3 separate regions of the Homo sapiens genome follow, and all the other regions are linked to region 2. The links are contacts of gene promoters, found by promoter capture Hi-C in blood cells and fetal thymus (Javierre and others, 2016). All regions are on one chromosome and are shown on one strand. Each heading gives the region's core, a stretch centred on a gene start or on the middle of the fragment in contact. The rest is flanking DNA. Distances are from core to core; before and after follow the strand shown. Region 1 holds the start of ITLN1 (intelectin 1). Region 2 overlaps SLAMF1 (signaling lymphocytic activation molecule family member 1). Region 3 holds the start of PEX19 (peroxisomal biogenesis factor 19).

Region 1 (2,700 bases), core at 161-2,660, 260 kb before region 2:
AAAGTGCTGGGATTACAGGTGTAAGCCGCAGCGCCTGGCTGAGACCTCTATTTCTAAGAGGTTGTTGTTTGTAAATATGAAAGCTGGGTATGTTCATTTTGTTACCTATACTGATGAGTTAATTTAGTTTCTAATACATTTAATTTTATTTAATTAATTATTTTCCAGATACACAGAGCAAATAGCTTCTAATAGATTTTAAATTTACAAAAGTATAACTTTTTTTTGCAGTTTTTCTTCTTGGGTGCTATTTTATTTTCTTCTATCAATATGTGAGTATTTTTTGCAAATCAGTACTTTGAACCAACAAATAGGAAATATTAGCTTAACAAAAAAGATATTCACAATCTTTGTAAGAAAAGGTTGCAGTATTATTAATGCTATAATGACATTATGTATTAAATGTATGATATCACTGGGGAAGAACTGAGTAATTCTATTACAGCTGCAGGGTAGCATTTGAGAACTTCATGACATAGGAGCAGGAATAAGACAGGAGGTTCGAAGCAGCAGAGAGGTTTCGTATTGATTCAGTTTCAAATGAATCCTGTAGTAAATTTTCCCTCGTTTGTGGCAAAATGACAAAATTAAAGACAAAGTAGTGAGTCTTTGTGTGAAACTAAATTATTCAAACTAAAGATTTATATATTTTTTAAAACTTTTCTATTCGTATTTTTTTGTGTGTTTTGTATCTCTTTCCCCTCCATTCCTTTTTACCAATTTATTCAGAAATGATCACTTTCCCATTTTGTTAAAATTTCCTTTTTCTATTTCTATGAATTGATAATTATGGCCAATGATTAATTTCATTTATTTATTTATTTTGAGATACCTAAGCTGAAGTACAGTGGCACGGTCATATTTCACTGAATCCTCTATCTCTGGGACTTAAGTTACCCTTTTGCCTTGCCTCAGCCCCACCTGAAACTATAGGCAAGTACCACCATGCCATGCTAATTTTTTTACTTTTATTTTTAGTAGAGAAGAGGTTGCCCTATGTTGCCCAGGCTGGTCTCAAACTCCTGAGTTCAAGTGATCCTTCTGCCTTGGCCTCCCAAAGTATTGGGATTTGAGCCAATGTGCCAAGCCAACAGATGCTTAATTTAGAGAAAGTTTTTATTTTGCAAGAAAGAAAGGCACAAAAACCCAAAACCAACACCAACTCTTGTTAATCTCTTCGTCTACTTCCTACTTGACACAGGTCCATGAAACCCCCAGATCCAGGAACAACGCTAGCAGGTGATTCTTAGGATTGGTTTTTTCTTTAGAACCTGTTAATTCCACTGTATAAATAACCTCCCCGAGATAACCAGAAGCCTCCCCTGCACTGGGCATTGTGCCAGGGGAGGGTGAGGCTGGAAACCTTGGTTGGCCCCACTGGGCTTCCTCCATAAAGCTTTCTGCACCTCATTCCACATCAGGAGCGTTTTTGGAGAAAGCTGCACTCTGTTGAGCTCCAGGGCGCAGTGGAGGGAGGGAGTGAAGGAGCTCTCTGTACCCAAGGAAAGTGCAGCTGAGACTCAGACAAGGTCTGTGAGTTGGGGGAATCCTGTTTTCAGCTTAGGTCTGCTTTTGGTCTCAGAGATGTGTGAAGTTTAAACAAAAGGCAAGGGGTTTTGGAGTCTTTGTAAGACTGGACAGGGGTGGGGCAGGGATGTAGAGAAAAATGATGGCCAAGATGGTGACCTTCATCTTGCTTTCTTTAGATTACAATGAACCAACTCAGCTTCCTGCTGTTTCTCATAGCGACCACCAGAGGATGGAGTACAGGTGAGTCACGCTGCTAGGGACAGCAGTTCCTTCAGCTGGATGACTTCCGGGATCCTGGTCTCTCCCAGGACACAGAGCATGTCCTTGAGATGCACAGCGGCTGGCTTGCATGTAGACTGAGTGCCGATTTCTGGTCTCTGGCGGAATCTGGCCTGTGGCAGTGAAGGTATTGCTTGAGGCATGTCCTGGGTCCAGGCTCTGTGCTTTTGTGTGGCCCTGAGGGGGCTGTGGCAAGAACTGTGTCACCTTCCAGCCACTGCCCACTCCTGTGGCCTTGGCTGTGGGATTTCCATGGGAACTACATGGTCTGCTTTGTGCCTGGAGAATGTTCTCTCCACAGTTTTCCTCTCTACAACAAGAATAACAATGACATTTTAAAATTTATATTTTTCTTCACGTCTAAAAATTTTTTTTTTAAAGAAAAGGCTGTTTCGAAATATCTTCTTACTTCATCTTTGCAAAAGCACTGTTTATTAACTGTGTTTTAGGTATGAGGAAACTGAGGTCAGTCACCTCTGACCTCACAGCTTTCCCCTAGACTGTTCGAATAGTTTGCAGACTTTTTGGAGTAGAGATTAGTCTCACCACTCCCTACTTCACACCCCATGTTTCAGCCATATTAAGCAGCTTGTAGTTCTACAGCTGGACTACGCTGTATTTTTTTTTTTTTCTCTAGGCCTTTGGATATGCTGTTTTCCCTGCCTTGGATTGGCTTCCTACTGATAAATCATGTTTATTCTCTCAGAATAAGCTAAGATGTCACCTGGACTGGAAGGTCTTCTGTGACTAAGACATGAGACAACCCGTCTTGCCTTCTTCTCCCAGGCAACTGCCCCGCTTACTGTCTGGCGTTTCCATTCTCCACTGTTACCTCAGAGTCTTTCTTTTGTTCTCTTGAGTTTGCCTTTCTTCTACCATTTATTCTTGTCA
Region 2 (2,700 bases), core at 156-2,655:
GCATTAGACAAACTTACATTCAGATGCAGATTTTGCTACTGACAAGCTGTGTGATCAAATGACTTAACTTCTCGTCTGCAAAACAGGGGTAATACTATGTACTTCATGGTATTGTGGTGGAGATTGGTATCAATACACAGAAAACACTGAACACAGTGGTTCCCATCGATGGGTGATAGATAGATAGATACATAGACAGATAGATACATAGACAGATAGACAGATCTCTTAGTGTAGATGAATTAAAATGGCAATGTGTAAGTGCTATGGCCAGGAGAAGCTGCACTGGAAGCATCTGGAAACAATACCTAGAACAGATTGAAAATATTTTAAGTCATGGTAACATAAGACTTTATGCTTCAGGTAAAAGCTGAAAAGGATATTAGATACTCTATGCCCTCATTTTACAGTTATGGTAAGAGAAAAGACCCATTGAGATGACGTGATTTGTCCAATGCCACACAGCTAATGATGGCTACAATGTAGATGTCCTAATTTTAAGGCCAAGACTTTTTCCTTAGAGCCTAAGACCTTGCTGACTTGGAGCCGAGTTAAGCTTACTCCTAAAAACCTGTTCTTGCACTGGGGAAAATAACCTGAGACTAAATTATCTTGGTCCAATGGTCCTTTTAAGCAGCAACAATCAACCTCACCTCTTCCATCTGTCTGACCATTTAGGACTGTCCTTCCAGTTCTACATTTGACTCTGAGCTGACCTGCAAGACTGAAAGTCTTTGAGGACTGTAGTCTGTTCTCTACTCTATTTGTAGCCACTACAGCACCTAGGAGAGTGCTGGGCAGGCATGTCTTACTTTGCAAACACTCGTGGGGACTAACTTGAACCTCCTCTGCTACCTCCAACTGCTTCTTGAGTCCTCCCCTCCATTTTACACACACACACACACACACACACACACACACGCACTCACGCACACTCCTCAGTCAGGATCAACTCTGACCAAAAAAGCGAAGTTGAAACCACTAGGCACACCGTGCTCATACCCACACACAAAAAATCCCATGTTGACTTTCCTTGAATTCCTGGAACTTCATCAGTGTCTGCCCCACATTTCCTCCCCAAGACTCACACCCTCACGCAGCACATTCCACCATGCTCACCACATACACACTGGGCCTTTCCCTTCCAAAGAAAAATGTGCCTCTCCTAAAAATGCTATTTCCTCAGAGATGTGCCTTTTTTTTTTTTTTTTTTTTTTTGAGATAGATTCTTGCTCTGTCACTCAGGCTGGAGTGCAATGGCATGATCTCGGCTCACTGCAACCTCTGTCTCCTGGGCTCAAGCAGTTCTTCTGTCTCAGCCTCCTGAGTAGCTGAAATTATAAGCGCGTGCCACCATGCCTGGCTAATTTTTGTATTTTTAGTAGAGACAGGGTTTCCCCATGTTGGCCAGGCTGGTCTCAAACTCCTGACCTCGTGATCTGCCCACCTCAGCCTCCCATAGTGCTGTGATTATAGGCGTGAGCCACTGCACCCAGCCCAGTTTTTTAAGAGAATAAATTAACTGGTGTTAAAATAAGTCTACCTTAAAGGCTGTGATTTTCTGGGTCCAGCCTCCATTGCCTCTGCCTGGACTTTGCAATAATCCCATAATAAACCTCCATCCTTCAGTCTGCCACTTTCCCACCATCCTTACTGCTGCATGATGTATACAAAGGATACTGTGCAACTTTAGAAAGAATGAGATAGGTCTACTGTGCTAACATGAAAAATGTCCTCAATACATTTTAAGTGAAAAGATCAAGTTACAGAGAAGTGTGTGCAGAATGACACCTCTTGTGTGGAAAAAAGTCTATATAAGTATAGCAAATATCCAAAACTGCATTGTCTAATATGGTAGTCACTAGCCACATGTGGCTTTTTAAATTTAAATTAATTTGAATTAAATAAAATTTAAAATTCAGTGACATTAGTCACAGTTCAGGTGCTCCATAGCCCCGTGTCTGTAAGCTGTATTAGACACTGCAGATATGGAACATTTCCATCATCTCAGAAAGTTCTGTTGCACAGAGCTGATCTACAGGGATATACATCAAACTTTTAAAAATGGTTTCTTCTTTTTTTTCCCACTTCTTTTCACAGGTATTGAAAAATACGGTTTCTTTTGGGAATGAAATTGGGTTGGTTAATGGAAGAAGGGGATTTATACTTTTTACTTTATACTTTATATATTTCTTCACAATTTTTATTTTATGATGAGAATAAATTACTCCTATAATTTAAAAAGAAAGCTTTTTAAAATTGGCTAAAAATTAAAATATTCTGCAACTTATTAATTTCCAGAGACCCTAGGCCCTGAGCAAAATTTCCAGATGGTGGGCAACAGAATGACATTGTTGCTTTATTTTCTAAATAGTCCCAGGTGGAACATCCCTCTTACACGTCCCCCCGCCCTTACCTCCCACACATCAATTCCCCCAGAAATAGGGAGGTGAGAAAGCTGTGAGTGAAGCAACATACTACCAGCTGGAAAATACAAAAGAGGTATAAACAACTAGCCCTGCCCTCAAAGAACTTAGAATCCTATTAGGAGACCAGATATGCACATTGAGCAACAGAGATTAAAGTAATTGAATGGTACACCAATGAGAAAAACACCTAATGCGTATTGGGCATTTGTTATGCACCAGGCAGTGTTCTAAACACTTTACAAGTGGTATCTCATTTAATTATCACAACAGC
Region 3 (2,700 bases), core at 155-2,654, 340 kb after region 2:
TACCTTACAGCAGGGGGTGGTCCTGATTTATCTCTCTGTCCTCACTGTGCCCAGAACAAGACCTTAATAATAGGTGCTCTCTAAGTGCGAAAACAGATTTGTATGTGAAACAGTTGCTACATTCTGACATCTGAATAGAACAATTCCAAAGGAGGAAAGGGACGTCTAGAGTTACCTCTATCTGAGCATTCCCCGTGTTCACTCAGTTGGAGGTTGGGTTCTGTGTGGAGAAAAGGAGATTGTTCAGGGAAAGTAAGTCTATTACTACTGCATTCGAATTGCCCTGCTCAGTCCAAGGTACCAGAGGCTCTCTTAATAACATGGAGTTCTAAGTTCCTGGCCGGCCCTGTGTCCTTTAATCAAACAGTTCTAATAGATAATAGGAAATGAGAGATGCCACTAGATTGGGCAGACAGATGTGCCTGATTAGGGACTGCGAGAGCAAAGAGTGGCCAATGAATGCCTACTAAGTTTTAAACCCTAGCCTGGGAGTTGGGCTTTACAGCAGTGAAGACAACAGACGAAAATCTTTGCGTTCATGGTGTTTAAATTCTGCAGGGTGGGGAGCGGAGAATAAAAAAGTACGGTAGATAGTATGTCAGATACTGTTCAGTGTTAGGAAGAAAAGGAACGGGAATGGCCAAGGAAAGCGTTTCAGAAAAGATAATATTTGAGGGAAACAATGAAGTGAAGCCGGGCGCAGTGGCTCACGCCTGTAATCCCAGCACTTCGGGAGGCCGAGGTGGGCGGATCAGCTGAGGTCCGGAGTTCGAGACCAGCCTGGCCAACCAGCCTGGCCAACATGTTAAAACCCCGTCTCTACAAAAATTAGTCGGACGTGGTGTCGCGCGCCTGTCATCCCAGCTACACGGGAGGCTGAGGCAGGAAGAATCGCTTGAACCCGGGAGGCCAAGGCTGCAGTGAGCCGAGATGGCGCCACTGCATTCCAGCGTAGGCGACAGAGCAAGATTCCTTCTCAAAAAAAAATAAAAAAAAAAAAATGAAGTGAGAGAAAGTAGTATGTTATGTGCCATAATTGTCATATCAATTATATATGTTTAGATTCTGGTTATTTGTAGGCAGTTTGTCTCAATCTGGCCTACTCACAGCTCAGGAAAAAATAATGAAAGAGCTTCGCCAGGTAATTTGGGAAGTTGAAAGAAAGGAGTCCGGGCCTCTAAAACCAGACAGAAAATAACCCTATCTTATCCCTAATTCTGTTTCACAGGAGAAAAGGGAAAAATACCCAAAACACAAACACTCAAAGCTTCCTGGCCCTTTAAAAATGGCGGTTCCGCACTGGTCAACAATACCATTGGTTACCCGAGGCAGAAGAGGGCGGGAGCGAAGGGGTGGAGGGCGTGTCGGCACCGAGGAGGTCCCGCCTCCTACGGCAAGTCGGAGGTAGCAAGATGGCCGCCGCTGAGGAAGGCTGTAGTGTCGGGGCCGAAGCGGACAGGGAATTGGAGGAGCTTCTGGAAAGTAAGAGCCCATAGTGGGAAAGGCCCGAAGAGGGCACGTGTGAGGACCCATTCTGGGGGTTAAGTGAACCTGAGATATTAGGGACGGGCAGGAGAGGCTCTCCAAAGGTTAAATGGGGGCGGAGAGTCTGACCCCCGAGCCCCCCAAAAATCTCTGGGTCATCCTGCCCCACCCCGGCGACTGGAGCTGGGGAGCTCACCTGGGGTCCCTCAGTGGTCCGGATGGTGGATGTTTCCGCAGGACGGCGTTTCATGATACCTCTTCAAACTCCTCTTTAGGTTACTGAGTTCTTAAAGTTCGACTTCAGCAGCAGTAGCAGCAGCAGCAGCATTTGGTTCTTGCTGGGTAGCGAACTACGCACTCACTGATTGCTTACATTAACTCCTAGCAAGCTCGTGGCCGGTCCTTGTGTGCCTCGTCCTGTCTTCCTTAACACGAAAGACACTTTTCTCCTCCTAGTCCTTTTCTCTTTCTCTCGTTAGGCCCCTTAACAGTTCTTTCATCTTGTCAGTAGCTCAAGCGGACTCCTTTCCCTTATTTTGAGAAACTGAGGATGTGGCGATTTCAGGGGAAAGCAGTTCACCCTCCTGAAAGACGGGGGATGTTTTCTTAGCATTACTCTCCACTCCCCTGTTGACTTCCTGCCCAGAGTAGGGCCAGTGCTCTCTCCCTAGGCCTGGCGAACAGAATGGTGGTGAGGACACAGGCTTTTCAGGGCAGAGGTGAATTTGTAATCGCTTGCTCAATCACGGAGATGTGGGCAGGCAGAAAAATGAACAGAAACCCTGAGGAGTGCCAAGTGACTGTGTAAATTAGTGTACGGTTATCTGCAGAGATCAGGCCAAAGGGAGCTCTAGAAGGTTGTTGGGGAGCACTAAACTGGAGAATAAGAGAAGATAGTTTAATGCCGTACCATGGAGTCTGGTATGTAGTCCCTCAGTCTGTGCTGGTACCAGTACCAACAGGAAGCTGGGTGGGATGTCCTGTGCTTTCTCACCAAGTTATTCCTTTTAGAGCTCCAGAGTGAGTTCAGAGGGATGAGGACATCTGTGTTCTCTACTACTGTTGGGTATTTGTATGGGATTTCTAGGGAATCGTTAGGGTGTGGCAAGGGAGACACTATAGATGGAGATGTCTCTGCAGAACTTTTTAATCCTCTCCTCCCAGCTCTGAGATGGACATTTGTTCCACCTTAAGGGATTTCTTTGCCTTTGCTCA

The links. Contacts are between HindIII fragments. The CHiCAGO score rates a contact against its expected background, and 5 or more counts as called.
Region 1: the fragment with the promoter of ITLN1 here is called in contact with a fragment that was not itself captured in region 2 in 5 of 17 cell types (naive CD4 T cells, megakaryocytes, fetal thymus and 2 more); the score reaches 6.5 in naive CD4 T cells.
Region 3: a contact is called between the fragment with the promoter of PEX19 here and a fragment that was not itself captured in region 2, in 3 of 17 cell types (fetal thymus, total B cells and activated CD4 T cells). The highest score is 6.0, in fetal thymus.

Annotation. Positions count from the first base shown.
Region 1 is chr1:160,883,890-160,886,589 of GRCh38, reverse strand. It overlaps ITLN1 (intelectin 1), which reads left to right and starts at 1,410. Exons shown (of 8, transcript NM_017625.3): 1 at 1,410-1,529; 2 at 1,707-1,770. The coding sequence starts at 1,713. The HindIII fragment of the contact is 4,692 bases long and covers 1,399-2,700 here.
Region 2 is chr1:160,620,077-160,622,776 of GRCh38, reverse strand. The region is part of intron 4 of SLAMF1 (signaling lymphocytic activation molecule family member 1); the gene reads left to right. Among named protein-coding and RNA genes, the nearest start is that of SLAMF1, 26 kb to the left of the region's middle. The HindIII fragment of the contact is 1,693 bases long and covers 559-2,251 here.
Region 3 is chr1:160,283,837-160,286,536 of GRCh38, reverse strand. It overlaps PEX19 (peroxisomal biogenesis factor 19), which reads left to right and starts at 1,404. Exons shown (of 8, transcript NM_002857.4): 1 at 1,404-1,482. The coding sequence starts at 1,413. LOC107985219 (a long non-coding RNA gene) reads right to left here and starts at 2,172. Exons shown (of 3, transcript XR_001738265.2): 1 at 1,682-2,172; 2 at 176-220. The HindIII fragment of the contact is 4,290 bases long and covers 1,270-2,700 here.